Linked DNA regions of Homo sapiens: region 2 is linked to region 1. The links are contacts of gene promoters, found by promoter capture Hi-C in blood cells and fetal thymus (Javierre and others, 2016). All regions are on one chromosome and are shown on one strand. Each heading gives the region's core, a stretch centred on a gene start or on the middle of the fragment in contact. The rest is flanking DNA. Distances are from core to core; before and after follow the strand shown. Region 1 holds the start of DND1 (DND microRNA-mediated repression inhibitor 1). Region 2 overlaps APBB3 (amyloid beta precursor protein binding family B member 3).

What was found. The method cuts DNA at HindIII sites, captures the fragments that hold promoters and counts their contacts. A CHiCAGO score of 5 or more calls a contact.
Region 2: a fragment that was not itself captured here is called in contact with the fragment with the promoter of DND1 in region 1 in 12 of 17 cell types (monocytes, total CD8 T cells, non-activated CD4 T cells and 9 more); the score reaches 8.0 in monocytes.

The regions. Positions count from the first base shown.
Region 1 is chr5:140,670,678-140,675,188 of GRCh38, reverse strand. It overlaps DND1 (DND microRNA-mediated repression inhibitor 1), which reads left to right and starts at 1,613. Exons shown (of 4, transcript NM_194249.3): 1 at 1,613-1,670; 2 at 1,801-1,918; 3 at 2,283-2,744; 4 at 3,439-4,395. The coding sequence starts at 1,647. The coding sequence ends at 3,896. WDR55 (WD repeat domain 55) reads right to left here. Exons shown (of 7, transcript NM_017706.5): 7 at 2,844-4,511. It overlaps HARS1 (histidyl-tRNA synthetase 1), which reads left to right. Exons shown (of 13, transcript NM_002109.6): 11 at 56-172; 12 at 364-510; 13 at 861-1,284. The coding sequence ends at 932. RefSeq lists enhancers at 1,148-1,943, 1,944-2,739. The HindIII fragment of the contact is 8,462 bases long and covers 1,588-4,511 here.
Region 2 is chr5:140,557,774-140,562,545 of GRCh38, reverse strand. It overlaps APBB3 (amyloid beta precursor protein binding family B member 3), which reads left to right. Exons shown (of 13, transcript NM_133173.3): 5 at 47-193; 6 at 319-446; 7 at 697-702; 8 at 845-959; 9 at 1,097-1,181; 10 at 1,445-1,528; 11 at 1,792-1,907; 12 at 2,042-2,233; 13 at 3,725-4,278. The coding sequence ends at 3,961. It also overlaps a transcript of SRA1 not described here. Among named protein-coding and RNA genes, the nearest start is that of SRA1, 2.7 kb to the right of the region's middle. RefSeq lists an enhancer at 4,644-4,703. The HindIII fragment of the contact is 2,628 bases long and covers 1,013-3,640 here.

The DNA.
Region 1 (4,511 bases), core at 364-2,863:
TTGTTTGCTCCTTGAAGGTGTTAGCCCAGCTCTCTTTTATCTGCCCCTTCCCCAGGCTTTGGAGGAGAAGATACGGACCACGGAGACACAGGTGCTTGTGGCATCTGCACAGAAGAAGCTGCTAGAGGAAAGACTAAAGCTTGTCTCAGAACTGTGGGATGCTGGGATCAAGGTATGGGAGGCAAGCCCCAGGGTGGCAGCAAACTTAGGTGTGCTGGACACAAACTGAATAAAAGCTCACCCATAATGGATCCTGCCATTACTTCTCAAAAGTAGAGCTAAGAACAGGGTGCCAGCTTGGACACCCTCTGTCCCTGAGGACAGCAGAAGCCAGCCTTCATCTTCTGCTCTTGTCCCCTGCAGGCTGAGCTGCTGTACAAGAAGAACCCAAAGCTACTGAACCAGTTACAGTACTGTGAGGAGGCAGGCATCCCACTGGTGGCTATCATCGGCGAGCAGGAACTCAAGGATGGGGTCATCAAGCTCCGTTCAGTGACGAGCAGGGAAGAGGTGAGGGAGGTGGGCAGGAAGGCTAAGGGACAGAGAATGTATGCCATTTTGGCAGGCCCATGCCCATTCAAGACCTGAGAAAAAGCCTGGCATTGATATTAGTACAACTCATAAAAGCCTTGAGGGCTTAACCTGTTACTGTGGTCTTAGTAGGGTGAGATCTCCATCCCTGCATATACCTTATGGTTTGTTGGCTCCCCCAAGAGGCACACTCTAGCCTGAGGTGTTTAATTAGGTTCCTGCTCCCAGCTGAGACAAGCCTGATGCCTAGAGGGCTAGAGGAAACTAGGCACTCGGGGAGCAGTGGAATGGAAGATGCTTATACCACCTTCTTCTCCCATCCTGGCCAGGTGGATGTCCGAAGAGAAGACCTTGTGGAGGAAATCAAAAGGAGAACAGGCCAGCCCCTCTGCATCTGCTGAACTGAACAAACTATCAGAGGAAAGGAAGTGGGACTGGCACTATTTGAGGTTAAGACAAACTGCATATGTACTTCAATTGCTTTGCACTTTTCCGTTTCAGCGGAAGACCTGAAGAGTGGTCAGAACAGAGCCTTTGATTTTTATTATGGTTATTTTATTGATTATTACTGGCAAAAACGGCCAGGTACAACACCTTTTTCATACAAGGCCCAGGAGGCTTAGTCCAGTCTGTGCTCCTGGGCTACAAGGACCCAGCCTGAGATGGTCCCATCTGCAGGGCCCCGCACCAGTTGGAGCAGATGCCTCCCCACCACCAATTGCCAAAGGTCCAATAAAATGCCTCAACCACGGAGTCTGCGTGTGTCAGTGATGCCTAGCCCCGCCTTCCCCAGCAGACCAATGTAGGGATGGAAAAGGGAGAAAAACAGTAAACTTGTGACCCTGAGGTTCTTGTCTCCAGCGTCCACCCTGCGGCTTGGGAGCTCCTCCTCGGGAGGCAGCCCCCGTACATACGCACCCGCGACTTTGCAGCTTTCACCTGAAGGTCTGAGCGAAGCCCGGGCGGCGCACGTGCAGTGGATACCTCCACCCCCCTGGGAGGCGGGGTCGCGCTCAGAGCCAATGAGAGCTTGCGGGGTGGAGGGGTAGGGAAGCTTCCAGAGGCCGGTGGGGAGGAAGTTATAAAGAGGGTACGAGGGGGCCAGCTGGAGAGCCATGCAGTCCAAGCGGGATTGTGAGGTAAGCGGCTGGCGACTTGGGGGCCGGCGAGCCCCGCCGGAGCGGGGGTCGGCTTTAGGGACCCCAGTACCACAGGAGAGGTGGGGGCGCGCTTGGCGATCCGCCATTCCAACCTTCCTTTCCCTCTCAGCTGTGGTGTGAGAGGGTGAATCCAGAGAACAAGGCGGCGCTGGAGGCGTGGGTCAGGGAGACAGGCATCCGCCTGGTGCAGGTGAACGGGCAGAGGAAGTATGGCGGGCCACCCCCAGGTACGGTAGTCCCAGCCCCTCCGCCTGTCCGGCTACACCAGCCCCCTTTGGGGGAGGGGCTGCTCCGAGCCTTCACTGTCAGAAACTGCGAACTACCCGGATTTATACCCCCCAGCAAAGGAGGAACTGTGGCTCCACGTCCACCCGCCCCGTCGAGGGAGGGGGCCAATCTCAAGGTGTACCTACTCTGTGCCAGCCCCCTTGTTAGCGCAGTCACCTAATTATGCCAACCACCCAGGGTACGGGTGTAAACCCATTTCACAGACCTTTGTTCACATCGCCTCCCACCCCCGCGCGCTGGGTCCGTGGGCTCAGAATTCGAAAGCGTCGCCTGACGGTGGCCTTGCATACCCTCTTCCCACAGGCTGGGTGGGCAGCCCGCCGCCAGCTGGGTCAGAGGTGTTCATCGGGCGGCTGCCTCAGGACGTGTACGAGCACCAGCTTATCCCGCTGTTCCAGCGCGTGGGCCGCCTCTACGAGTTCCGCCTGATGATGACCTTCAGCGGCCTGAACCGCGGCTTCGCCTATGCCCGCTACAGCTCGAGGCGCGGCGCGCAGGCCGCCATCGCCACGCTGCACAACCATCCGCTGCGGCCGTCCTGCCCGCTGCTCGTGTGCCGCAGCACCGAGAAGTGTGAGCTGAGCGTTGACGGCCTGCCGCCGAATCTGACCCGCAGCGCGCTGCTGCTCGCGCTGCAGCCGCTGGGTCCCGGCTTGCAGGAGGCGCGGCTGCTGCCCAGCCCCGGACCGGCGCCCGGGCAGATCGCTCTGCTCAAATTCAGCTCGCACCGGGCCGCTGCCATGGCCAAAAAGGCCCTGGTGGAAGGTAGGCTGGGGCGGGGGTGCTGGTTGGGGCCAAACGCGTTCTGCCCGGCACTTTATACTGAGCATAGCTGTTAAAGTTACAAGATCTTAGAGTCAAACATGCCAGAATTTGCAACCTTTTACTATTTGATCTCAGATTTTTAAAACTTCCAATGGTGCTACCACCACCGCTTACCTAAATTTGTGACACTTCCCGAGCATTACCTCCTGACTTAATTCTCAACCTTCCCCCACCCCCACACCGCAAAATAGGCACAGGACCCTCAAGCTATGAGGAAACTGTTAGAGAAATTGATTTGCTCAAGGGAATCCAACTGAGCTTTTTACTACTATAGAATCTGTTTCCTCAGACTGTTATGAGAATTAAGTAACATAATGGGTGTACGGTACTTAGCACACTGACTGACTTACAGCAAGTTTTCCCAGTAAAGATTAGCCATTATGATGGTTATGAGGCAGACAAAGCCTGCAATTAACCAGTACTTCTCCAAGGAAACTTGTAAGGTAGCAGTGTGTTATACTCCCTTTGCAAATAATGGAGGCTGAAGGCTTCATTGTCTTTTCTTACCCATGGTCACACTACCAGGAAATGGGAAGGCTACAAATAACAGGACTGTGTAGCTCCAAAGGGCTCACCACCTGGAGGCTTGGGCCCAGGGTTTAGACCTGCCCTTGTCTTTGCATTTTTCCTACAGGGCAGTCACACCTCTGTGGAGAGCAGGTGGCTGTGGAGTGGCTCAAGCCAGACCTGAAGCAGCGACTTCGCCAGCAGCTTGTGGGTCCCTTCTTGCGGTCCCCACAGCCAGAGGGCAGCCAGTTGGCTTTGGCAAGGGACAAGTTAGGGTTCCAAGGGGCTCGGGCTACCCTGCAGTTGCTGTGCCAACGAATGAAGCTGGGCAGCCCTGTGTTCCTCACCAAGTGTTTGGGCATAGGACCTGCTGGCTGGCACCGCTTCTGGTACCAGGTGGTGATTCCTGGGCATCCGGTGCCCTTCAGCGGCCTCATCTGGGTTGTGCTGACCCTAGATGGCCGGGATGGGCATGAGGTGGCCAAGGATGCTGTGTCTGTACGGCTGCTGCAGGCACTCAGTGAGTCTGGGGCCAACCTCCTGTGGTCTGCTGGGGCTGAGGCAGGTACCATGGTTAAACAGTGACTCCATTCTTTCTCCACAGGCACCCTGAATGGGCATGCAGAGCCTGTGTCAGGCCCCATCCCAGCAGGCCTGGGTGGCCACTTTCTGACCCCCAAAGGTGGGGAGGGGCATGGGCCCAGGCCCATCAGCCTCCCTGCTGGGACAGGGACCTATGGCACCTGGGGGCAGCTTAGGTTTGGGTTAAGTTGTGGTGAGGGGCCTTGCCCTCCCGCTCCCAGCCCAGGGTCCAACCTGACCCAGTGATCTTCCATGGCCGTTCCTTGTCCCACCCCCACCCGATCATACCTTCCCCCCTCTGCCACAGCTTAGCATGAATCTTCTTTATTGTCCTGATTTGTCCTCTTTGTTGGTTTTTATTTGTGGGGAAGGGCAGCTGAGCCAAAGGGGTCAGAAATTCTGCCCTTTGCCTCCACCACATGGCATTCTGGTTTTGGTTTCTGTATAGTTTTGGGTCTTTCTATGCTGGTTGTATTTATATTAAACCCCTGGTTAGTATATACTTGTGTCTGTGCTGTCTTGCCCTAGCTTAGAGTTTGTTTACACTGGTAGAGTGAATAGCTGCTACGGGGCAAGTACTTCCTCACATCAGTGCTTTGAGTGCATCTTCTTGTGTTG
Region 2 (4,772 bases), core at 1,077-3,576, 110 kb after region 1:
CCTACTCCATCCTTATTAATTCCTGTCCCTTCCCCCAACCTGTCAGTGCTTTGCAGTCCGCTCTCTGGGCTGGGTAGAGGTACCTGAAGAGGACCTGGCACCGGGGAAGAGCAGTATTGCAGTCAATAACTGTATCCAGCAGCTGGCCCAGACCCGCAGCCGGAGCCAGCCTCCAGATGGTGCCTGGGGTGAGGTGAGTTGGCTGGGCCCTTTAATGGTTTGGGCCCAGGGCCCAGCAGAGGTAGCTGTCCCTGAATTTCCTATTTCTCATGGCAATGACCTTTATCTGAGCTCTGGGCTGACCTCTGTCCTTGGCAGGGCCAGAACATGCTGATGATCCTGAAGAAGGATGCCATGAGCCTAGTGAATCCCCTGGACCACAGTCTGATCCACTGCCAGCCTCTGGTGCACATCCGTGTGTGGGGCGTGGGGAGCTCCAAGGGCCGGTGAGGATGCCTACATCCCCCAAGCAAGAGCTACTTCTCCCTCCCGGCTGCAGGCTGTGATCCCCACTGATGCTGATCCCCAGTACTTGAACCCCTGGACACAGATCCTCTGATGTGGACCCAGGACTGCTTCCCCTGCCTGGTCCAGCCCTGGTTGGGGAGGGTGGGCCCAGCTCAGCAGGGACAGTTTGGGGAGAGTCCGAGAGGCTGGGCTGATTCCCTTCTGTGCTCCCACATGCTTCCGGAACAGTGACAGGTGAGTGAAAACCAGGTATCCTGAGCCCCATCCCTGATGTCCCTACTCCATCCCTGCTATATCCCTAGCCTGACTTTCCAGCCTCCTGCAGGCTCCTGCCTCTAACCAGCTTCTACCCCAGCCCCATCTCTGCCCCTGCTAGGGACTTCGCTTTTGTGGCAAGTGACAAAGATAGCTGTATGCTCAAGTGCCATGTGTTTTGCTGTGATGTCCCTGCCAAGGCCATTGCCAGTGCCCTACATGGGCTTTGTGCCCAGGTAAGTGTCAGGGGTGGGGCAGGGAATGTGGGTAAGGGGTTGGGTCTGAAGCTTCCAAGGTAGTTGGGGTGGTATTGGCCCTTTTACCCTAATTCCCCTCTCTCCCTGTGGGTCATGCTGGCTTCATTGTGTTTTAGATCTTGTCAGAGCGAGTAGAGGTCAGTGGTGATGCCTCTTGCTGCTCCCCAGACCCCATCTCTCCTGAAGACCTGCCACGGCAAGGTATGGGGAGGGGAGACCTGCATTGCTGCATTGGGGTGCTTTGGTGCTGCTTTGTGGGGGGGCGATTTCTGGTTATTTAATACTTCTGTGGATAAATTTCTGAGATGTCTGGTCTCAGGGATCCCAAGCCACTAGTTGGAGGAGCATCTATGAGCCATTTCTTCTACCAGCACCAGCTCTGACCTGAGTCCTGGCCCATTGAGAAGGGTGGGGAAAAGGGTAATTGAAAGAGCTTCCAGGCCAACTTGGTGTGTATATTTCAGTGGAGCTGCTGGATGCGGTAAGCCAAGCTGCTCAGAAGTACGAGGCACTGTATATGGGGACACTGCCAGTCACCAAGGCCATGGGTGAGGACTGAGGGGGCTGCATGTGGTGGGCTGTGTGAGGCAAGGGGAAGGTGAGTGAGGTGAGGCCTGTTATCATTTCTCAAGAGTCCTCCCGTGGCCTTGTTATGGCCTGGGGTCTACCAGCCTTCCCAAATCAGAATTCTAAGGCTTGCCCCAGCTATCCTATTCCCTATCTCTGAATCCCAAATCAGTGAGAGGGGGCTAGACACTCCCTGCAGACTCTTTCTTTTACACTGGGAGACACGCTGGGTATGTTCCCCCAGGCATGGATGTGCTGAACGAGGCCATTGGTACCCTCACCGCCAGGGGGGACCGGAATGCCTGGGTCCCCACCATGCTCAGTGTGTCTGACTCTCTCATGACTGCACACCCCATTCAGGTACCAGAAGAGGGTGAAGTTGGGGGCTTTGGAGGGGTGAGCAGGGATGCTGAGGGGTCACTGCTTGCTGTCGGAAAAGTTAAGTGGGTCTGGCCCGTGCTTGGCCCTCTAGTGACTAGGCCTGGTGTGGGCAGGCAGAGGCCAGTACAGAGGAGGAGCCATTGTGGCAGTGCCCTGTGCGCCTTGTGACATTTATTGGTGTTGGCCGCGACCCACACACCTTTGGCCTCATCGCTGACCTGGGCCGTCAGAGCTTCCAGTGCGCAGCCTTCTGGTGCCAGCCCCATGCAGGGGGACTCTCTGAAGCTGTGCAGGCTGCCTGTATGGTGAGTCATGGGTGGGAATGGGTTGGTGGGATTGCCCTGCAGCTGCTCTCCACTGTTTACTTGGGCTCCGGGTCGGCAGCCTCTTCAGAGATCACAAACCTGGGCTGATTCTGGTTCATTAATGTTTTGGCCCTCATGTTGTTTTTAGTAAGTTTTAATTAGTTGCCAATATTTAAAGGCCAGGACATTTCACATAATAATCGCTATTCTTGTTTTTCTTAAAATATCAAGAGCTCTGGCACTCAGTTCACACGTGTAAGTGTCAGCATGCAGCCAGAGTTGTGCAGAAGCTGTGCCCTAAAGAGTTGGCATTGTTCCTGTTTGTCTCATTTAGGTTTATTTCCTGGCATCTGTGGGCATTTGAGTGTGGGTTGCTTATACTTCGTTAGTTCAGTTTGCCCATTCATTCAACAAATATGGGTGCCTACAGGGTCCCAGACACCATAGCTGACCCTGAGAATTTAGTGCTGTAGAGGGCACAGCCCTTGCCTTCACAAAACACTTAGGATAGAGCCAAGATAGACCAGAAATAAGTTGTACACCACTGGTTGATGGAAGAGGTGGCCCCTTTAGGGGTCAGGAAGGCTACCTGTAAGAGGTGATAGAAATCCGACAGTCCAAGAGGGAAGTTAGCCAGGTGAAGGGGAGTGGGGCAGGTGTACCAAGCACAGGGAACCTTAGCTGTGAAGGTGAGAGATATTAGTGGATGAGAGTATCTGAAAGAATCTAGTGTATCTGGCATGCAAGGGGGACGTAGTGAGAGGTGAGATCAGAGAGAATGACAGAAGCCAGGTTTGGGGGACCTCATAGGTCAGGGTGATGAGTTTATCTGGAGGCACTAGGAAGCACTGGAGCCCGAGAGTGAAGTCAGGGTTATGGATTAGGATGACCACTTAAGCTATAGTATGGGTAAAAGATTTGGAGGACGTAATAGGAGGTAGGAAGGCCAATTAGGACACCTTTGAGCTGTTCAGATGAGATGACTGGGAGCAGTTGCATTGGGGCTGGAGTTTGAGTTGTACACCTTTACCCTTGACTAGGGAATCTGCTTTGCCAGGGACTAGTCCCCACCAGTGAGAGATGGAAAAGAGGCAACATAGTGGTACATGTAATTAAGAGTTTAGGCTCTGCAATCAGAGAGAACTAGGTTTGAATGCCATTTCTGCCTTTCTCTGGCTGTGTGACCTTGGGCAAGTCATATACTCTCTGAATCTCAATTTCCTCTTTTGCAAAACAGGGATAATAACCCCTCATAAATAACTGAATTATACAAAGCACTTAGCAGTGTCCAGCCTGCCCTCCTTAAGTGTCTGATACATGTTTTATGATTTTGTTATTGAGCTACCTGGGAATGCTCTAGAAACTCCACATGTGGCTGACTACCAACCTTGTTATCAGACAGAAGCTTTGGCCAGTTCCCTGTCCTGCAGAAGCTTTCAGGGAGTCTAGAGGCAGAAAGTAGCTGGATCCTCACATTCCCCTTCTCCCTAGGTTCAGTACCAGAAGTGTCTTGTGGCCTCTGCAGCTCGAGGCAAGGCCTGGGGTGCCCAGGCCCGTGCCCGCCTGCGGCTCAAGCGGACCAGCTCCATGGATTCCCCAGGAGGTCCCCTGCCCCTCCCCCTGCTCAAAGGAGGGGTTGGCGGTGCAGGGGCAACCCCTCGAAAGCGGGGTGTCTTCTCTTTTCTTGATGCCTTCCGGCTGAAACCCTCTCTGCTCCATATGCCCTAAACTTATCTGGGAAGGCTGGGGAAGTAGGCTCTGGGTCCATGCCTAACTCTGTACCGTTTTATTCCTCAAGGCCTATAGCCTGTCACTCCTTGAAGCCTTCTCTGCCTGTCCCTCCGATCCTTGTCCACCGTCTATTTATTGCCCAATTTATTGTTTATACGGATGACTGGGAGGCACTGCACCACAACGTAGGACCCTGGCTCCCCTTTCCTTGGGTCCTTGTGTTCCTTGCCCCTGTCCAACCCTGGACAGTTGGCTCTACCTCAGTAACACTTTATAGCAAAATCAGTGCAAATAAAAATCCCTCAGTGACCTCACTGGATGTGAGTATATTGGGCCTGGGACAGGGCTGGGGGCTAACACCCTGTGTGAGATGAGTGTCTTTGTGTCTGTGCTTGATGTTGGTGGCTCTCTGTAGTCACATGACAGCATGGGTGTGATGGAGATCTGACTTCATTCAACAAACATATTTTCTAAGGAGTTCCCTGTGCCAGGCACTAAGCTGGGCACTGGGAATGTAATAAAATAGTCAAGGTCCCACCTTCTAAGACTGTCCGACAGGGAAACGAACAAGAGTCAAATAAGGCAGAAGATGTGATGTAATACACCTACGAAATCTCAGAGGGTTGTAGGGTCGTGGGAGCTCAAGTGAGACACTTAACCTGGCCTGAGACATTCCAGAAGGCCTCCTGAAGAACTGACATCTGAACTGAGAACTGAAGGAAGATGAGTACTAGTGAGGCTACCGGACGTGAATGTGGAGATTGTGCAGGGCAATGCAAGAGGAGGCTGTAGAAGTCAACCTGGCTAG